Regions from separate parts of the Homo sapiens genome. Here region 2 is linked to region 1. Evidence: promoter capture Hi-C in 16 types of primary human blood cells and fetal thymus (Javierre and others, 2016). All regions are on one chromosome and are shown on one strand. Each heading gives the region's core, a stretch centred on a gene start or on the middle of the fragment in contact. The rest is flanking DNA. Distances are from core to core; before and after follow the strand shown. Region 1 holds the start of MMACHC (metabolism of cobalamin associated C). Region 2 overlaps TESK2 (testis associated actin remodelling kinase 2).

Region 1 (6,544 bases), core at 3,105-5,604:
TCCCTCCCTCAAGCAATCATCCCTCCTCAGCTTCCCGAGTGGCTGGGACCACAGGTGTGAGCCACCACACCTGGCTGGCTAATTAAAACAAAAAAATAATTTGTTGTAGAGACAGGGTCTCCCTATGTTGCCCAGGATGGGATTTTCCTGCTTTTGACAGACTTTCTTGTTACCACGGTCAACACCATATTAGTCTACAAACCCCTAACAGGAATCTTGTGTTTGGTTTCTTTTTTTTGAGATGGAATTTTGCTCTTGTTCCCCAGGCTGGAGTTTGTGGCGCGATCTTGGCTCACTGCAACCTCTGCCTCCTGGGTTCAAGTGATTCTCCTGCCTCAGCCTCCCGAGGAGCTGGGATTACAGGTGCCTGCCAGCAAACCTGGCTCATTTTCTGTATTTTTAGTTGAGATGGGGTTTCATCATGTTGGCGAGGCTGGTCTTGAACTCCTGACCTCAGATGATCCACCCGCCTCCGCCTCCCTAAAGTGCTGGGATTACAGGCTTGAGTCTCCGTGCCCGGCCAGCAAGCCTGTGTTTTTGAGGTTGACCAATCAGCAAAGCAAATATGTGATTAATGCAAACTTTATTTTCAGTTTTAGGACACACAATATTTGCTTTTGTCCACTTGGCCTGGACATCCAAGAAATTGGATTCACCTGTAACACCGTCTACACCCACATTCACACACTGAACATGGAGAAGAGATGTCACAAGAAGCCCAAACCGAAGACCCATAACATAACCTGCAATGAACTTGCTAAATCACGTAGTTGTGGAGGTTTCTGCTGTTCACACAAAGTGCTATGTATATACCGGCATCACTTACTGGGGATTTCTGACTCATAGTGCAGAACACTTGACACAGGTCTACACAGGCTACCTGGGGTTGTGCATTAATGGGACAGAGTGGGATGACCATTACTTGTTTGATTGTAGCTGGTTTTACTGCTGTAACAGATAAGTGAAGTCTGTGTCGGTGCTCAACTAATAATGTGACTGTTGTGGTTAGGTCTGTTCCCCCTCATGTCTATTATAGGTTCATGTATTATATGGCAGGGAACTTAGAATAGAGAGGCAGAAATCTCAGCTACTCAGGAGGCTGAGGCGGGAGAATCGCTTGAACCTGGGAGCCAGAGGTTGCAGTGAGCCAAGATGGTGCCATTGCACTCCAGCCGGGGCAACAGAGTGAGACTCCATCTCAAAAAAAAAAAAAAAAAAAAAAGCAGAGAGTTAGAGAGTTATTATTATTTTTGAGATGGAGTTTCGCTCTTCTTCTTGCCCAGGCTAGACTGCAATGGCGCGATCTCGACTCACCACAACCTCCACCTCCTGGGCTCAAGCGATTCTCCTGCTTCAGCCTCCCGAGTAGCCGGGATTACAGGTGCACACCACCACGCCCACCTAATTTTGTATTTTTAGTAGAGACGGGATTTCACCATGTTAGCCAGGCTGGTCTTGAACCCCTGACCTCCAGTAATTTACCCACCTTGGCCTCCCAAAGTGCTGGGATATAGGTGAGAACCACCACGCCTGGCTGCAGAAAGTTCTAATAGGCAGAACCACTAAGAACAATAGAAATGACTGTACTATAGCTAGTGCAATGACAGGGTCAGATAAGGGTCCTCTGAAATTAGAAAAGGCTTCCTTGTGGCCGGGCATGGTGGCTCATGCCTGTAATTCCAGCACTTTGGGAGGCCAACGCAGGCAGATCACCTGAGGTCGGGAGTTCAAGACCAGCCTGACCAACATGGAGAAACTGTCTCTACTAAAAAAAATACAAAATTAGCCGGGTATGTTGGCACATGCCTGTAATCCTACCTACTCTGGAGGCTGAGGCAGGAGAATCACTTGAACCCGGGAGGCAGAGGTTGTGGTGAGCTGAGATCGCACCATTGCACTCCAGCCTGGGCAACAAGAGCGAAACTCCATCTCAAAAAAAAAAAAAAAGAAAAGAAAAGGCTTCCTTGGATGCTAAGTCTTGAAGGCTAGAAAGTCAACTGGTCAACTGTCAGGTTGATGTAGGGAGGAGAATCTGGTGTGCATTTATTTATTATTTATATTTCACCAAAAAACACATAAACTCACTGGTGTGTATTTTAAAAAGAGGTCACAGACTGAGTGCGGTGACTCATGCCTGTAATCCCAGTGCTTTGGGTGGCTGGCCGAAGCAGGAGGATCACTTGAGGCCAGGAGTTCAAGACCAGCCAGGGCAACAAAGTGAGACCCTGAGTGTTGGTGCATGCCTGGAGTCAGCTACTTGGGAGACTAAAGTGGGAGGATCACTTGAGCCCAGGAGTTTGAGGCTGCAGTGAGCTATGATTGCACCACTGCACTCCGGCCGGGAGGACAGAGTGAGACTTTGTCTCTAAATAAATAAAGAATAAAATAAACAAGTCACAGCATAAGCAAACACACTGGCAGAAAATTCCTGGGTATATTTGAGAATTGTCTAGTTTGGTGGAAGTGAAGGGTCTGTAGAGGGAATCAGAGGGAGAGAAGGCTGGAGAGATCAATAGGAGTGAGATTTTGATTGGCTTTGAATACCAATTTAAGGAATATGGATTTAATTTGGTGACAGTGAAGAGCCACTGAAGATTTAAGGAGTAAACTAGCATGATCATTTTTAGATCACACTGGCTGCAGTGTGGAGGAGGGACTGGAGGTAAAATTACAGCAAGGAGGTTATTACAGTAATCCAAGTGAGAAATGGTGGCCTGGACCACAGCATAGATGGGTGGAATACAAGGGAATGGATTTGGGAGATTCAGTAGACAGTCTTATAGGTCTTGGTGGCTGATTGGATGTGGGGGTAGGGAGGTGAGAGGTAGGAGCCTAGGGTGACTGGCAGGGCTGCAGTTGGCTTTGTTCAGTACAAAAGCTCCTAATACCCAGGTCTACTCAACTTGCCAGATAGGCATTCTCACTCTCCCACACACCTGCCATCCACTGAAACGGTGTCTCAAAGAGTTAAAGGTCGATCTGCAACAAATAGCTTTTGTTTTCTCAAAAACCCAGTGTCATAATATTAGCTTCCAGCACATCAGGCATCAAGCCCTTTTACTTGGTAACACCACACCACTATCTCCACACCTTTACTCAAGCTTTTTCTGATATTTGGGATGTACATAACCCTCCTTCCTTCCAATCTATCTTTTCATATATAGCTCAATTCCATTTTTTCTGGCAAGACCAGTCTCAAGCTAGACCCAACCTACTTCTCCCTCTATATCCTCTCCCAGGACTGCTGTGAGCCACTCAGCAGAAGGAATGGGAAGTGGGTAGTCTCTTAAGCATCAGGCAAAGGGCTCAAGCTGAGCTGATTTAGCTTTGTAACTTAACTGCTCAGTGCACAGGGCACTGATGTGGGGAAATGTAACCGTGTAAATGGGGGTCGGGGTGCGGTGCTGAGACTGCTGTGCCAGGCAAGTGTACAAAGTTTCATTACCCAGCCCAGCACTGATGACTGGAAATATCATGAATTATCCTTCTGTTGGTAGAGGGAACAAACCAGCCAATTGTTTGCCTGTTCATCACCAGGAATGCCCTTCCTTCCTCAGCTGACCTAAATGATAGCTATGCAAACCTTCTAGGCTTTGCCCTCTCCTAAATCCTTTAGGAAGTTCCAAGGTGACTTTGCCTCACAGGTCCCTTTCTTCTTGTAAATTATATAGGTGACAATCTGAGCCACACACGCTACAGGTCATATGGTGTCTCCCGTTAACGAATCCGGCATTATATGGTGGCAAAAGGTTAAACATGCGACAACTTTTTTTTTTTTTTTTTTTTTTGACACGGAGTTTCGCTCTTTGTTGCTCAGGCTGGACTGCAATGGCGCAATCTCGGCTCACTGCAACCTCCGTCTCATGGGTTCAAGCAATTGTCCTGCCTCAGCCTCCCGAGTAGCTGGGATTACAGGCATGCACCACCACGCCCGGCTAATTTTATATTTTTAGTAGAGATGGGGTTTCACCATGTTGGCCAGGCTGGTCTCGAACTCCTCACCTCAGGTGATCCGCCCGCCTCGGCCTCCCAAAGTGCTGGGATTACAGGCGTGAGCCACCATGCCCGGCCTCGACCACTACCTTTTTAACCCAAGCCCCCACTGAAACTCTGTCCCTGTTGTCACATGGACACTGGGCTGCAGGAACCCAGGAGGATCAGAGGCTCCCGAGGCCTCACGCCAGTTGCAACGAAGCCAATCATATATTTCGCCCTAGAACAGCAGGAGGGATAAACTAACCTGGAAGGGGTAAACCTCGAAGCCAAAAGGACATAGCGTGTCCTCGATCTTCTGCTTCAGCTCTGCGACTTTCGGCTCCATAGCGCACGTTACACGCTGAGCTTGCTGGGGAATGAAGTCTCAAGGACAATTGGGCCGTTACGTTTTGAGTCAGCTTCGACTCCATTTCCCAGGTAGGAAATGGGTCCAGTAGCGGGACCATATTGCCTATGCGCGATGCATCTTGGGATGCGTAGTTCGTTTCCTCCTTGGAGACAGCCACACGAAATCAGGAAGACTCAGTTTCCCGGCAAGCTACACGGTGGGGGTGTGCATGTACGTGTCTCTTCTAGAGAAAGGTAGTTCCACCGCCTCCATCGCCGGTTGTGTTCGCAAGAGGCGACCTCAGTTTCCCAGGTGGCGCTGCGGCAGCCAGTCCAAAGTCGGACTTTCAAAACCAACCCGAAGTTTTGAACCCGGCGGCGGCAGTTGTCACTGGCACAGGTTTGGCGTGGTGGCGCCAGTGTACTACTTCTGGGGAGGTCTCAACCAGGTTCTGGCACCTTCAATCCCCACCTGATATCTGCGTATCATCACGGTATCCCGCTTTTCCCCCAGTTCCCCAAGAGCGTCCTTCCTTTCCCTAGTCACAGGATCGCAGTTTTGGTCTGATAGTGCATCCACCTACCCCAGTGTTGCATCCCCACTTCCCTCTTTCCATCTAACGTGGTGGCCTTTCCTGGGGATACCTTGGGTATCCCCCGCTAGGAGAGCAAGCACAAGACACCAGGGAGCCAGACCCCTGCCGCTCCCCTGCCACAGGATATGAATACGAGCCTCAGCTGGTTTGAGCAGCTGGATGTGCTTCTCAACGCTACTGATGGAAATGTGGTCCGGAATAAGGTGAGGGGTTGGTGGAGGTCCCCAGTTTGCGTGGGGAGGCTAAGGGACTCTCAGAGTTCATTGGCCTGTGCATCTGTTTCTTTTGTAGCAGTGGCTGTATCCTCTTGGGGTCTCCACAGAGCTCATTGGCCTGTGCATCTGTTTCTTCTGTAGCAGTGGCTGTATCTTCTTGGGGTCTCCACCGCAGGTAAGTAATGTCTCTTTCTACTTCCAAGCCCTTTCTCTTTCTGTGCCTTCCTCCAGTGCCCGTATCATCCATTATTCCTTCCAAATTCCAACTCTGTCCTTTCCTGAACTCTGTTTCCCCACACAGACCCTGCACTTAACCCTTCCTTATTTCCTCAGCCGGGGACCTGGCTGGGACCTGGATTTCCTCTCATCACTTGCCTCTGCAGTCAGGAGTCCAAGCTCAACAGCCTTGGGCTTTAGAGACTCCCATAGTTCCACAAAGGCTGAGCTGCCCTGAGTCCTAGAGCCCATCCTCTCTCTGGGGTGAGGTTGCTATTCTCTGATCCTAATTTCAATGTCAGGCTCAGGTGAGGCTTGGAATCCTTGGTGTGTATATGTGATGTTTGTGTAAGATGAGGATACTAGGGGTCGGGAAAAGCTGTTATACAGTAGTTCATGTGCTTTTTTCTGCCTGGGGAGGTGACAGGCACTAAGGCAGGCAGTGCAGGGCCTGCTAGAAGAGCGAGAGCAGCAGAAGTACCAGATCAGTGTCCTGGAAGGTATCTGGCCAGTTATTTTCTTCATATACACAGCTTCATATGTATGCACACAATTTTGCCACACACCTGTTGTGTGTGCACATGTGTCTTGTTTTGCAAGTAGAGTATCTAGGGTCTTGTGAAACTCTTAGAGAGGATGATCCCTAACTTGTCCCACTACAGCATCACTAAGGTTGCTGCAGGGGGCCCCAAAGGGGAGTGCTTTTCTCCTGGAGCAATGCCTGGAGGAGCTGAGAAAGGAACTGCAGGGCCTTCAGAGCCAGGTGTGGGAGCAAACCCAAGCCCAAGCCCAAGCCCAGATGCAAACAGGACCAGGAGAATGCAGTACTACCAATGGCCTTCCTCAGGAGCTGCAGACTGAGTAAGGGATAGTCAAGACCTTGCCTTCTTTTTTTTTTTTTTTTTTTTTGGGTTTGTTTTTCTTTTATTGATCATTCTTGGGTGTTTCTCACAGAGGGGGATTTGGCAGGGTCATAGGACAATAGTGGAGGGAAGGTCAGCAGATAAACAAGTGAACAAAGGTCTCTGGTTTTCCTAGGCAGAGGACCCTGCGGCCTTCGGCAGTGTTTGTGTCCCTGGGTACTTGAGATTAGGGAGTGGTGATGACTCTTAATGAGCATACTGCCTTCAAGCATCTGTTTAACAAAGCACATCTTGCACCGCCCTTAATCCATTTAACTCTGAGTGGACACAG
Region 2 (6,527 bases), core at 1,516-4,015, 89 kb after region 1:
ACTGTCACACTGCAAGTATAATACATGAGAATGTAATTATTGTTAGCCACGTGGGTTTGCCCTCTGATGGTGACCATTTTTGTTCTGCATAAGCCATCTGTCTCAAAGATACTGTGGTTTAAAAGCCTGAAATGGATTACTTTTTAAAAGAAGCTTCTAATTATTTATATCATTTATGTTTTTATGTCTTCACTTTCACTATATATTTTGAAGACAACAAAAGGAAATTATTCTAACCAGTGGCCTAGAGCAAACAAAGTCCTTTTGGCTTTTGTTACCCAGACGAGTATTAATGTAATGGAAACATTTATTATACTTCCCTGTGACTCCTTAAATGCCAAACTAAGCATGACTATGTTTTATTCTCAAGGTTCTTAGAATTTGTATTTTCTAAATGCTTTCTGGTTGTCTTAGCAATTTGCTGTTAATACTTAGGATTTAAATTTTTTGGTTACTATTTGTTAGTATGGCTCTTAGTCTATTTTCAAGCTGTAAACATTATAAGCTTTCTTTTATAGGTGCAGAAGTATGAACCAGAATTTTTCCCCAAATTGAGATTAGATCTACATTGGGAAGAATCCATCTCTTGGAACCCTAGGATTACACAGATGTGCCTTCTCAGGTGCTGGCCCCGGGTATGGGAGGTGGCTGAGTAGATGAGACTTCTGTTCTCTTGGCTTCATCTAGTCAGAACAGTTGCACTTTTTATCTTTTTTATATTGAACTTCTGTATAAGAGTTTTGAAGAAAAGGTCTCTTGCTTAAAAGAAAGAGAGAGAGAGAGAAATGAAGGAAAGAAAGAAAGAAAGAAAAAGAAAAAGAATGAGTTGAAAATTCTTCTGTTAGTGCTTTGGAAAGGCTACTTGGGAAAGAAGCCTATCTGCATGATCTGCCAGGTGGTAGGCATTTAATCCTCTGGGCATACCTTGGTTCTCTTCTGCCAGAGCTATTGTGTGCCCAGCAGGAGTGAGTGAGCTGAACCTTTGTAGTTCTCTTTTTCTTGACCCCAACCTCCTAGTTTCCCTTTTTCCCTTTATCTCCCTTCCTCCTAAGATTTCTATTTGGGAGGAAAAGTGTGGGCCTGGTAAGTCATAGAGGTAGTACTTGTGTAAATTTTGTTCATGTGTGTGTATTCTGTTTATACATGGGCCCAGTGAAGATTGGTTATTTTATCATCAGTTGCTCAAAGTTATCAGTTAAAAAAAGGAACAATAAAGTACTTTGTTGAATGCAGGGACTGATTGTTTAGGTCTCTTGTGAATAAGGTTGTTTACGCCAGGAAGTCTTATGCTCAAGATCTGTAACCCAGTTCTATGCCCCACTCACTTCCACTCCCCAGTGGCCTTTTTGAGGAACTATACACTCAGATTTGTTCTCATACCTCCCCACGACCCCAAGACAGGGCCTCACTCTGTTGCCCAGGCTCACTGCAATCTCTGCCTTCTGGGCTCAAGCAATCCTCCCACCTCAGCCTCCTGAGTAGCTGGGACTGCAGGCGTATGCCGCCACACTTGGCTAACTTTGAAAATTTTTTTGTAGAGAAAGTTCTCACTATATTGCCCAGGCTGGTCTCGAACTCCTGAGCTCAAGCAATCCTCCCACCTCGGCCTCCCAAAATGCTGGGATTATAGGCTTGAGCCACTGCACTGGGTCTCTCTGTTATTTATGCCATGAGAAATTTAATATTTCTTTTAGACTCCTTCAATTCACCAAATATGCCTTCAATTCACCAAATATGAAATTGAAGACTATGCCTTCAATTCACAAATATTTGCTTGGAACTACTCAGTCCCTCCCTGTGCTAGGTAATATCATGATTAATGCAAGAGAAATAGAGGCTTCTTGTCTCCCAGAGAGTCTCCTTAAGAAGTAAATTATACTATGTAGGAAATAGACTAGCATTAGCTAATGCTGTGAGAATATGGCAGGATATTTTCCCAGTCTCAGTTATTAAGACAGCCATCTTTCCAGTTATCCATCCTGAAAAATTCCAGCCATTTTTGGTTATCATGTATTCCTTGCTTCTAATGAGAAGCTAAGCTGTGATTCTAAATATTCAAAGGCTTTTGCATCTATTCCTTCCCGTATATGTGGGCTGTAATTCAGCCTTCTTCACTTTCACCTGGAGTGAATTATTTTCCCTGTCTCTTTGCCCTTTTTCACTCTTCCTGATACTCAGCTCTGGTTGTATAGTTTATTTCTTAAAACTTTTTGTGGCTCACATTGGTTTCAAAATCGAGTCAAAAATTATTTAGACTGACAGTTAAGGTTCAGTCTGTTTTTCCAGCCTTTTCTTCCACTCTTTCTCTTGTACAATTCACACAGCTCCACAATTTCCTAATTATATTCTCTAGGACAAGTTATTTAACCTCTGTGCTTTGATTTCTTCTGTTTAATGAGAATGGACCAGATCAGTTGTTAGAAATCACACTGAGGCAGGGCATGGTGGCTTACACCTATAATCTGAGCACTTGGGAGACTGAGGCGGGAGGATCCATTTGAGCCTAGGAGTAGTGAGCTATGATGGCTTCTTCCTGCCAGCTGCACAGACAAAATCAATTCCCTGAGATCGTGGCATTGCAGTAAGAAAGAGTTTAATTGACTCAAGGCCAGCCATGCCAAAGAGGCAGTTATCACTTAAATCAGTCTTCCTGAAGCCCTCTAGAGGTTAGAGTTTTTATGGACAATTTGGTGGGCAGGGCTGAGGGAATGGGTGCTGCTGATTAATTGGGGGTGTGGAAAAGTCCTTGTGCGCTGAGTGTGCCTCTGTGTAGGGCTACAGCAGGAGTCCTCAACCCCCAGGTTATGGACCGGTATCAGCCTGTGGCCTGTTAGGAACTGGGCCACACAGCAGGAGGTGAACAGGTGAGCAAGCATTGCTGCCTGAGCTCTGCTTCCTGTCAGATCAGCGGTGGCATTATATTTTCATAGAAGCGTGAACCCTGTTGTGAACTGTGCATGCGAGGGATCTTGGTTGCACGTCCCTTATGAGAATCAAATGCCTGATGATCTCAGGTGGAACAGTTTCATCCCAAAACCATCCCTCCACCTGACCCTCACCCGAGTCTGTGGAAAAATTGTCTTCCACAAAACCAGTCCCTGGTGCCAAAAAGGTTGGGGAAGGCTGGGCTACAGGACCAGTTGAGTCATGAGTCATGAGTCTGGGTGGGGTTGGTCTGAAAAAAATCTCTCAGAAAACCAGTCTTAGGTTCTATAATAGTGATGTTATCTATAGGAGCAGTTGGAGAAGTCACAAATCTTGTGATCTCTAGCCACATGACTCCCAAGCAGTAAGAAATTGTAGAACTATACCTACATTTTAGCAGAATTCTCTCCCCTCCCATAATCCTAACCTTGTGGCCTTTCCTTAGTTTTACAAAGGTAGTTTAGTTTTGGGAAGGGCTATTATCATCCTTGCTTTAAGGTTAAACTGTAAACTAAATTCCTCCCAAAGTTAGCTTGGCCTATGCCCAGGAATGACCAAAGACAAACAGCTTGAGGTTGGAGGCAAGATAGAGTTAACGATGTCAGATTTCTCTTTTGCAAAGGTGGTTTCAGTTGTGCCACTGAAACACAGACTGGGTGATATAGTGAGACCATGTATGTTAAAAAAAAAATAAAAAATAAAATAAATAAATATATAAATAAGAAATCACATTGAATTAAATGTTGAACAATTTTTAAATAATCAGGTTTTTAAAATATCTTAAGGGTGAGTGAATGTGGATGTGGAGTGTGTTCCAGAATAAATGGGCAGTGTTTTAAAAAAAAATTTTTTTTTTTTGAGTTGGAGTTTCGCTCTTGTTGCCCAAGCTGGGGTGCAATGGTGCAATCTCAGCTTACTACAACCTCTGCCTCTCAGGTTCAAGTGATTCTCCTGCCTCAGCCTCCCGAGTAGCTGGGATTACAGGCACGCGCCACCATGCCCAGCTAATTTTTTGTATTTTTAGGAGAAACAGGGTTTCACCATGTTAGCCAGGCTGGCCTCGAACTCCTAACCTCAGGTGATCCGTTTGCCTCGGCCTCCCAAAGTACTGGGATTACAGGCGTGAGCCACTGCTCCCAGCCTAAAATGTTTTTTTGCATCTGTTGAAGGTTGAAAAAAAAATAATAAAGTGGATCTCTCTGATTTTATCATTGTAATCCTGGTGGGTAACTAGGTGAAAGACTCTCAAGAGAGTTCACAAAGCATCTTTTGTAACACTAGACTGTAAGGTGATCTTAATTTTTTTTTGAGACAGAGTCTCACTCTGTCACCCAGGCTGGAGTACAGTGGCATGATCTCTGCTCACTGCAACCTCCGCCTCCCAGGTTCTCGTGCTTCAGCCTCCCGAGTAGCTGGGATTACAGGCATGTGTCACCACACCCAGCTAATTTTTGTATTTTTAGTAGAGATAGGATTTCACCATGTTGGCCAGGCTGGTCTCAAACTCCTGGCCTCAAGTGATCTGCCCCCGTTGGCCTCCCAAAGTGCTGGTATTACAGGTGTGAGCCACTGTGTCTTGGCTGAAGATTTTTAATATAAACAATGATTACTAATTATTGAGTACCCATTATGGACCACTATTAATTTCCTGCCGCATTCCCTTTCTTCTTTCCAGACCTCTCCCACCATTCATCCATCACTTGAGCCAAAAACTTACCATTCTTATTATCTTTCTCTTACACCCTATTTCAAACCATCAAGTAGTTCAGCATTATCTTCAAAATATGTCCTGAGTCTTTTTACCTCTACACTTACTACTCTAGCCCAACCATCCTAATTGATCTCTTGTCTTCCCCTTTTACCCCACAATAGCCAGATTGAATTTTAAGAGGGTAAATCAGATTATGTCATTTCCCTGCTGAATTTCCTAATACAGCTTTTTGTCATTCTTCAAAGTTCATACTCTGGGCTTTAACCTATCAGGCCCTAAATGATTTGGCCTACGTGGCTCTGACCATATTTCCAATCATTCTTCCTTTTTCTTACATCATTCTAACCACACTCACTAACCCTCTTGTTTCTCAGACACATTAAGCTTTTTTCCCTGCTTCAGGGCCTTTGTACTTACTTTATTCCAGAATCATATGATATATTTCTGCTGAGATAGCCCCTCTTCAAAGAAATCTTTTTGACTAGTCTAAAATAGACATCGATATTTGTTACAAGTTCTCATTACTTCTGAAAAGAACCTTATTCATTTGTTTACCTATTGCTTAAAGCCTCCAGTATTGAATGAGCTCTCTGAGGGTAGAAGTTTATCTTTTTCACCACTGTATTTGTAGTGCCTATAGTGTAGTATCTCTAGAAGCTGATGCCAATTAGAACCAAGCCAGTTTGCATCACAGAAACTTATAAAAGCTCAGGAACTGAAGGTGGGTGTCAGGCTTGGGCTAAAAATAAGAGGGCTATTCAAAGTCTTTTAAGGGGTAACTGGGCCTGAAAGTCAACATCCCCATTTCTTGTAACTAATCAGTTAAATATCACCCACCCCAATAAGACATGGTTTATTTTTGGAGAAAAATTGAACCAGAAATACTTCATACTAGTGAACATCTGATAGAATGCAATACCTAAAAGAGGAGATGGGGGGATAGTCTGCATACTGGAATGGTGAGGCTCATAAGACTTCTAGTCACCTTCCATCACCTGGCTCTCAGGCAGGCAAGAATCATTCCTATCCTACCCTCAACCCTGCCACTTGCCAGGAAATTGATGGATTTTTTCCTGGAGAAAATGAATAGACCCAAATAAAGGAAGACAGTTTTTTAAAAATGACAACCTTTCTCAGAAGTATTTGGCTTTGGCAATATAATAAAATTAAAACATTTTTTATATGAGCCATAGGCTCATGCTCTTTGAGTTCTCACCATTCAGTATGCAGACTAACCCATTGTGCCGGGCCTGGCTAATACCTGGAGGGGAGAACCAAAGGACATGTGCTTCCAGATTGAAAGGGCCCAGCACAATGAATGAAAAAACAGCCACCCAGAGCATATCATTATGAAATTTTAGAATATGGGTAATAAAAATATTCTAAACATTTCCACAGAGGAAAAAATTTAAAAAAAAATCCCATACAAAAAAGCTAGAGCAATGGAAGATGCTTTCTGAGAGAAAATGATTTCCTACTTAGAATCCTATGTCCAGCTGAACTACCAATCAAGCATGAGAGTAGAGTGAAGATATTTTTAGATAGGCAAATTGTCAAAAAATTTGCCTCTCATGAGCCCCTTCTCATGATGCTATTGGAGGATGTGTCCCTTCAAAACAGGGAAGTAAACAAAACACCCTAATAAAAATAAAAAGGAAGCCTTGAGACCTAGAAAGAAGTGGGTATAAAGGTAATGGGAAGTCCCAGGATGACTGTTGTGCAACAGTCTACAAAATAAGCAGTTCAGGTTGGATTCGAAGGATTACAAGATTCAGGAGAGATGTTGGGAAGTGGGGGTGTGAGGAAAGAACTTATGTATTTCCTGATATGTTTGGCAGGGTGGAAATCCATATTCAGAAGAATTTTACAATTTTGTTGGAGGCTTTGGAAA

What was found. The method cuts DNA at HindIII sites, captures the fragments that hold promoters and counts their contacts. A CHiCAGO score of 5 or more calls a contact.
Region 2: a contact is called between a fragment that was not itself captured here and the fragment with the promoter of MMACHC in region 1, in 1 of 17 cell types (naive B cells). The highest score is 5.1, in naive B cells.

The regions. Positions count from the first base shown.
Region 1 is chr1:45,498,110-45,504,653 of GRCh38, reverse strand. MMACHC (metabolism of cobalamin associated C) reads right to left here and starts at 4,354. Exons shown (of 4, transcript NM_015506.3): 1 at 4,241-4,354. The coding sequence starts at 4,321. CCDC163 (CCDC163 homolog) reads left to right here and starts at 4,581. Exons shown (of 5, transcript NM_001102601.3): 1 at 4,581-5,122; 2 at 5,211-5,309. The coding sequence starts at 5,045. RefSeq lists enhancers at 4,360-4,559, 4,109-4,641. The HindIII fragment of the contact is 9,755 bases long and covers 3,104-6,544 here.
Region 2 is chr1:45,407,862-45,414,388 of GRCh38, reverse strand. The region is part of intron 3 of TESK2 (testis associated actin remodelling kinase 2); the gene reads left to right. Among named protein-coding and RNA genes, the nearest start is that of TOE1, 71 kb to the right of the region's middle. The HindIII fragment of the contact is 4,515 bases long and covers 508-5,022 here.